Regions from separate parts of the Homo sapiens genome. Here region 1 is linked to region 2. The links are contacts of gene promoters, found by promoter capture Hi-C in human tissues and cell types (Jung and others, 2019). All regions are on one chromosome and are shown on one strand. Each heading gives the region's core, a stretch centred on a gene start or on the middle of the fragment in contact. The rest is flanking DNA. Distances are from core to core; before and after follow the strand shown. Region 1 has its middle 90 kb from the start of ZDHHC21. Region 2 holds the start of CER1 (cerberus 1, DAN family BMP antagonist).

The links. The method cuts DNA at HindIII sites, captures the fragments that hold promoters and counts their contacts. A contact is called where the count stands out against the background at its distance.
Region 1: a fragment that was not itself captured here is called in contact with the fragment with the promoter of CER1 in region 2 in 3 of the 25 tissues and cell types used here (dorsolateral prefrontal cortex, hippocampus and stomach).

What each region holds. Positions count from the first base shown.
Region 1 is chr9:14,601,835-14,605,972 of GRCh38, reverse strand. It overlaps a transcript of ZDHHC21 not described here. Among named protein-coding and RNA genes, the nearest start is that of ZDHHC21, 90 kb to the left of the region's middle. The HindIII fragment of the contact is 3,974 bases long and covers 2-3,975 here.
Region 2 is chr9:14,720,556-14,724,469 of GRCh38, reverse strand. It overlaps CER1 (cerberus 1, DAN family BMP antagonist), which reads left to right and starts at 1,737. Exons shown (of 2, transcript NM_005454.3): 1 at 1,737-2,304. The coding sequence starts at 1,798. RefSeq lists enhancers at 712-1,649, 1,650-2,589. The HindIII fragment of the contact is 6,126 bases long and covers 1-2,878 here.

The DNA of each region.
Region 1 (4,138 bases), core at 739-3,238, 120 kb after region 2:
ATGCCCTTGAATCCATTTGAAGTTTATTTTCATAAACCCCAGTGTAGCTTTATTTTTACAAACTTCAATGTTTTGTACATTTTTGGAAACTTGTTTCTGTAATATTGTATAGTGAGAAACTAAATTATTTCAGATGGACAAAATATTAACAACACATAAGATCTGACAGTATAAAACTCCTAAAAGAAAACATAGGGGAAAATCTTCATAACATTGTTGACTTCTTGGAGATAACACCAAAAGCACAAGCAACAAAAGCAAATATAGACAAGTGGGACTGCATCAACTTTAAAAGCTTCTGCATAGCTAAGGAGACTTAATAGAATCAAATGGCAGTCTATCGAATGGGAGAAGGTATTTTCAAACCACATATTTGCTAAGAGGTTAATCAAAATACAAAACGAGCTCCTACAACTTAATAGAAGAAAAAAATCCATATAAAGACTGATTAAATAATGGGCAAAGGACTTTAATAGATATTTCTCCAAAGAAGACACACAAATGACCAACAGGTACGTGAAGGGATGCTCAACATCACTAATAGAGAGATGCAAAATTACAACGAGGTATTATCTCACAACTGTTAGAATGGCCATTTGAAAAAAATAGTGTTGGTGAGGATGTGGGGAAATTGGAACCCTTATGTACTGTTACTAGGGGTGTAAAATGGTGCAGCTGTTTTGAAAAACAGTATGGAAGTTCCTCAGAAGAATTAGAAATGCTATATGATTCAGGATTCCCACTTCTGGATATTAAAAAAAAAAAAAATGAAACCAGGATCTGGAAGAGATATTTGCACTCCCCATTTCATTAATGCAGTATTCATAATAGCCAAGAGATGGAAACAACCTAAATGCCCATTGATGGTTGAATGAATTTAGAAAATTTAGTATATACGTACAATGGAATGTTATTCAGCCATAGAAAAGGAAGGAAATACTGTCAGATGCTGCAGCTTGAACCTTGACAACATTTTGCTAAGTGAAATAAGCCAGCCACAGAAGGACAAATACTGCATGATTTCACCAATATGAAGTATCTAATGTAGTCAAACTTATAGAAACAGTAGAATGGTGGCTGCTGTGGGGAGGGGGAATTGGGGAACTGCTGTTCAAAAGGTATAGAGTTTCTGTCACGCGAGTTTAAAAAGTTCTAGAGCTCTGTTGTATAACATTATGCTTATAGTACTGCACTATACTTAAAATTTAACAGTACCGTACTGTATATTTAAAAATTTACTAAGAGGATTGATCTCATGTGCTTTTTGCCACAATAAAAAGTAATGTGAAGTATGAAAAATAATAACTGGAGAGTTTACTAAATTTGTGTAATTAAAAATACCAAGATTAATTACATGCTAATGTTTTGCTTTTTTCAGTTTTCTCACTTTGTTTTCTAAAAACATGCAATGTTACAGATACATCTAAGTCCTCAACCTGCAGTTTTCCTCCCTAGAGGTAGCCGCCATCCTAAAGTCAGTGTGAATTATTTTCATGAATGTTTTTGTGCTTTTATGATGTATGTAGCATCCATAAATGATACTATTTTCAAATTTTACATTTATGTAAATTTTAATCAGCATCACATTTTTTAAACAAAACATCTTTATTAATGTAGATTTGGGCCATTCATTATAAATCCCACAGAACAATTATTTGAATAAACTGTAGTTTATATATTATTCACTAAGTGGATTATTTCCTTTGTTATTAACTTGTTCAAAGAGAAGTGAAATAGTGGAATGGTAAGGTATGTGCATCTTCAACTGTAAAAGCTTTCCCAAATTGCTCTTTAGTCAAACCAATTTACACTCCAACCAACATATATATTGTTTCATCTTCCCCCACATCCTCACTAACCCTATGTAATGAGTTTTTCCTATTTGTTATTGATACATATTTTTGCTGCTTCCTGCATCATTTGTCAGTCCAATCGATTTGCCAGGAATCTAATGTAATTTTCTGGAAAAAGTCTTTGTAAATATCGAGAGAAAAAGTGAATAAAAACATGACTCTAATAACTCAATAATTCATGAAGGATATATTTTCTTAAGGCAAATCAAGGGATGAGTCAACATCTACGACTATAAATATGAATAAAAAATTATGCTCTTATGAGGTAGCCAGAGATAAACCACATTACTGAATACTTAGAGTTCGACCCCTCTAAAGTTCAGGATCCACTTGATTGTATTTGTTTCTTAATAAAGAGCAGCGATTCCCTTTTTCTAAATATTTCACAGGTAGATAAATTTGTAAAGTCCTTATAAAAATAAGTATTGCCTGTTGAGATCTTATTTTCATATTTTATTTATCTAGCAAATCAAGATTAGCTCAGTAATTTATATATCACATGAGGGTAGATTAACGAGCTTTGGTTGCGTTTATGTAAAAGTGGTTGAATCCAAATCTTTCATGTTACGGTTGTGCTTGTTACTGGGTCTTCATAGAAGTAAAAACCACACTGGGGAAAAATACCACAACAATTTTTTGTTTAGCACATTTTTTCACATCTGATTTGCAGTGTCATTTGTGTCCTTGAAGTATAGCATGCATTTAATTCTTCCAGTGGTTATCTTAAAAATTTCAGGAGGATTTACCTATATATTTCTAATTGTAATATTCATGTAAGAAATGGTACCTCAAATAGGAGGTAACTCCTCCTATTTGACATAAGAATTTATGTTTTTATTTCCTATCATACTTTTAAAAATATAATTTGGAGTTTAATACATTATTTTCTGTCTTCCATTTTTAAAGTTCACTTTATTGAGGGATAGTTTAAACACAACAAAATGTATTCATTTTAAGTACATTTCAGTGAGTTTTTAGAAATATGTATATCCATGTAGCTATCAACATATTCAAAATATGGAATATTCAATCACCCAAAAAGTTTCCTCAGGCCACTTTACTGCTCCCCCTCAACTCCCACCCCTCCAGGAAACGCGGACCTGTTTTCTGTGACTGTAAGTTAGATTTGCCTTTTACAGAATTTCGCATGAATGAAATTCTCCCTTTTTTTTTTTTTTTTTTTTTTTTTTTGAGATGAAGTCTCTCTCTCTGTTTTCCAGGCTGCTGGAATGCAGTGGCATGATCATAACTTCACTGTAACCTCGAACACCTGGGCTCAAGCAGGCCTTCTGCCTCAGCCTCCCGAGTGGCTGGGATTATAAGTGCAATTCACTGTGCCTGGCTTTTGTCCTTTGTTTTTCACTGGCTTTTGCTCAGCATATTTTTGAGATTCATTCATGTTGTGAGTATGTTTCTTTTCGTTTCAGCAATTTAAAAATGTCATCCCATTTTTTCTGACCTATAAATTTTCTACTGACAAATCTGTTTGTCTGATGGGGATTTCCTTATATGTGACTTGATGCTCTTCTCTTGCTGCTTTTAGATTTATTTCCTTTGGCTTTGGCATTTGACAGTTTGACTATATGGTGTGTGCATTGGAAAAGACCTGTTCAGGTTTAATATACTTGGGAATCACTGCACTTTGTCTATCTAGATGCCTGTATCTCTGGCAAGACTTGGGAAGTTTTTAGCTATTATTTCATTAAATAAGTTTTCTGTGCCTTTGGCCATCTCATCTCATGGAACTCCCAAGATGCGAATACTTTGTCACTTTATGAGGTCCCTTGTGTCATTGTAGGCTTTCTTCATTTTTTAAATTTGACTGAATTATTTCAAATGACCTGTCTTCAAGTTGAGAAATTCTTTCTTCTGCTTGATCTAGTCTATTGTTGAAGCTCTCTATTGAATTTTTTTATTTCATTCATTGAATTCTTCAGTTCCGATATTTCTGTTAGGTTCTTTTTATTATTATTATTATACTTTAAGTTCTGGGATGCATGTGTAGAACATGCAGGTTTGTTACATAGATATACACTTGCCATGGTGGTTTGCTGCACCCATCAACCCGTCACCTACATTAGGTATTTCTCCTAATGCTATCCCTCCCCTAGCTCCCCCACCTCCTGACTGGCCCTGGTGTGTGATGTTCCCCTCCGTGTGTCCATATATTTTCATTGTTCAACTCCCACTTATGAGTGAGAACATGTAGTGTTTGGTTTTCTGTTCCTGTGAGCGTTTGCTGAGAATGATGGTTTCCAGCTTCATCCATGTCCCTGCAAAGGACA
Region 2 (3,914 bases), core at 488-2,987:
GTGAGGCTCTGTTTCAACAACAACACAAAATTTTAAATAGCCAGGTGTGGTAGTGTGCCTGTAGTCCCAGCTACTCAGGAGGCTTGCTTGAGCCTAGGAGTTTGAGGTTACAGAGTGCTATGATTGCACCACTGCACTCCAGACTGGGCAACAGAGCAGAACCCTTTTCCTAAAATAAAAAAAAACAATGGCAAATACACATGCTTATTTATTATATATCAACAGCACCTTTCATTAATACTAGCACACGTTCCATAGATATTTGGTACAAGTACAATATATCTCCACTCATGGCATTCTGGTAAAGTGATGGTCCATGTTAAAAATAGCTCATTATCATGGGTAAAGGGACTTACTTAAGGCTTTATTTCATAGAAATCAGGCATGGCTATCAAGAAGAACAGAAATGCCTGGAAAACAGACTCCAGTGGGTCACTTCTTGGAAAGAAAGTTTAATCAGTATTGACAAAAAAGGGGGAACATGTTCCAGGACTATTTGTGTTATTGAAAGCAAGGAATATAGTGATTGAATTAAAAGGGGAGAAATAAAAGCAGATATTGCATTGCTTCCCAGTGGAAATACTGTTTGAATCATGTGGTAGGCTGATCGGACTCTATTCTGGGGTTTCAGTTTTCTGGACGTGTTTCTTTTTCGTATCCTAGGCTGATTCATGATAGTTTTGAATGATAGTTATTTTTCAATTTTTCCTTTGATCCCCGAAGACTCTTATTTGTGTCAATCTTTATTTAGCCTGGCCATCAATTAGTGTAAAACAAGGGGAGATGATGTGGATTCAATAAGGTAAGAAACTGACTAGCCAGCGTCACACACAAAGTTATCAAACCTGGTTCTTAGAATCCACGTTCTCATGTCTGGCTCTTTGTTCAAAGGGAAAAAAAAATCAATAGGATGGCTGGAGGGAGACATTTCCCTATCCTCATTGAAGACTGATGAGCTGTCAGTCTATTACGTGGTATCCTGTTGAGGAACATGTGAACAATTGGAAGAGTTTATCTGATGACTGACCAGTTGTGAAATTTAGCACCCATTAATTGATTCTTAATGTGAGAGGATTAACTTGGGAATTGTGAGTTTCTACGTGTGGAAAGGAAAACATATTCCCTTTACTCAGTTACTGTGCAAAAATCAATAACCCCAATTTGCATGTAAGTAAGAAACAATATGTCCCTTGCTCAAAAAAATTAACATCCTTCTAGCTCTTCCTTTCTTCTCCTTACAACTTTGATATACTTCTTCGTGTGTGTGTGTGTGTGTGTGTGTGTGTGTGTGTGTGTGTGTGTGTGAATAGCCTTCCTAAAGGCCTGGGCTTTTTCTAAATGTATGCCTTTAATTTTTATCCAAAAACTTCTCTTACAGCAACATGTCTTGTCTATTCTATTCCAGCACAAGGCAGATGCACAGCAAATGTGAGCTGACTCTAGTCCTTCTTCTGAAAACAGCCATGGGAAATTTAGGCAAAGAATGTGTTGTCTTTGCTAATACTGCTCTTTAAGCCCCAGACATAGCTAAACTCTTAGCTAATTACCCCCTGGGTCCCAGGCTTTCACTGGGGCCTTTTAAAATACACAAAACCAAAGTGACGGCAGGAGGCCATTAGCACTACATAATTCAAGCAAACAATAAATGTGTTTATTCTGCCTGGCTACTGACCACCTGCCTTCCCATCCCGCCAGGCAGGTATCTATATATACGATTTCCTTTTTCCCAGTCCTGCAGAGAATGAGCCTCTCCTTTGGGCCTCATCATTTACAAAAGAAGCTTGGGCCCCTGACAGCATGCATCTCCTCTTATTTCAGCTGCTGGTACTCCTGCCTCTAGGAAAGACCACACGGCACCAGGATGGCCGCCAGAATCAGAGTTCTCTTTCCCCCGTACTCCTGCCAAGGAATCAAAGAGAGCTTCCCACAGGCAACCATGAGGAAGCTGAGGAGAAGCCAGATCTGTTTGTCGCAGTGCCACACCTTGTAGCCACCAGCCCTGCAGGGGAAGGCCAGAGGCAGAGAGAGAAGATGCTGTCCAGATTTGGCAGGTTCTGGAAGAAGCCTGAGAGAGAAATGCATCCATCCAGGGACTCAGATAGTGAGCCCTTCCCACCTGGGACCCAGTCCCTCATCCAGCCGATAGATGGAATGAAAATGGAGAAATCTCCTCTTCGGGAAGAAGCCAAGAAATTCTGGCACCACTTCATGTTCAGAAAAACTCCGGCTTCTCAGGGGGTCATCTTGCCCATCAAAAGCCATGAAGTACATTGGGAGACCTGCAGGACAGTGCCCTTCAGCCAGGTATGTGTTCTGGGGGGAGAGCAGGTAAGAGTTTGCAGGTGGTAGTGGACAGCTGGGATGGATGGAGAGTAGGGGAAAAGGCTGTCAGGAGCCTGACTCTAGCTTAACTACAGATTTGGTCCTTGGGCATTCATCATAGGATTTGGCAAAGATTAAGTTTCCTTCTGGCCTTTCCATTTTTTCTTGGCATTGTGGAAATGCTGCAAGAATGATATGATGATACTGTCAATATCAGTAATCATTCATTCACACTGAAGACACAGAGCTCTGTTTTATTTATTTATTTTTGCATTGGAGGTGATCTACTCAGAGATATAAGTCAGACTGTACCCTCAGTTAGGAAACTGAGAATTTAGAGTAATCACCAGAACTCCTCTGTAGCTATCTTTCTGCACTCTATTAATATGTGGATGAGCAGGTCAACTCCATTTGTTGATAAAGTGGGGTGCATTGGACTCCTTCCCAAATACTCTCATATCCATTTACGATGGTCTTAATCCCCATAGTCCATACTTAATTACTTTATAGGTTTATGAGGGACTTCTTTAATAGCTTGCTAAAGCTATCCCACAACCTCAAAGTACGTTGAGGTTCTCAGGCAAAAGTTGTCATATCATTTCTAGTATTATGATAGCAAAAAAGTGATTTTCTTTCACTTATTTTCTCATATGAGCTTTTTAAAAAATCAATCTTGATGTGAGATCATATCTCCTCCCCTTAGAAGTACCTTTCTCCTGATTCATGTTGTGTTGGCTGATTTGTAGTTATTATGATCAATTCCATGCTATTAAGACAAAGGGACATCCTACTGTCTACTTCCTCTGGCAATATCTACATTCCAAATGTTAAATTAAAATTGAGAACTTGCATTAGGTCCTTAAACATGAAGATATTGAACCAAAAACATGCAGGGTAGAGTAAAATTTTATAGTCGAGTAATGCTACCCAATTAAGCAAGCAATAGAATAGGGCAATTGACTGTTCAAGGCAGTTAAGTATTCTGCCTGAAAAGGCAAGGATATGTAGCAATGGCAAGTCAATTATCAAATAATAATGACTACTCTGTTGGCCATGTGCAATTAGAAAATTACCCCTAAGAATCAGGCAATCAAATTTCTTTTGAAATTCTTCTTTTGAATTCTATTGCTAATTAAATTAAAACTAAGATGTTTGACTCTTACATATTTTGAAAGGCATATAAAGCTAGGTGCTTGGAGTTATGAGAGGTAAAGGTGATGTAATATACAATGATTTGCAGGCATATGCATTGTAACTCTGCTTGCATACAACTTCATAGACTTGAATGTACTACAGGTCTTGCAGAATAGGATAGAATTAAACCTAGAATGTTCTGATCTATTCTACGATCAATGTAACAAATATGTATTGGGAGCCTACTATGCACAAAGCCCTGTGAGGAATAAAAAAGTAAGGCACATTACTTATGTAAGATAATTACCATTAGAATTTTTCAATCGCTCACATCCAATTAGACAAAATTGCTTAAGGTTTTGCACGAATAATGTAGAGTAAAATATTTTTTATGTTAACTTAGGGATTCCCTAAAGGCTGTTTAATAATTTACTCAATAAAGAAAATTTAATTGAGGT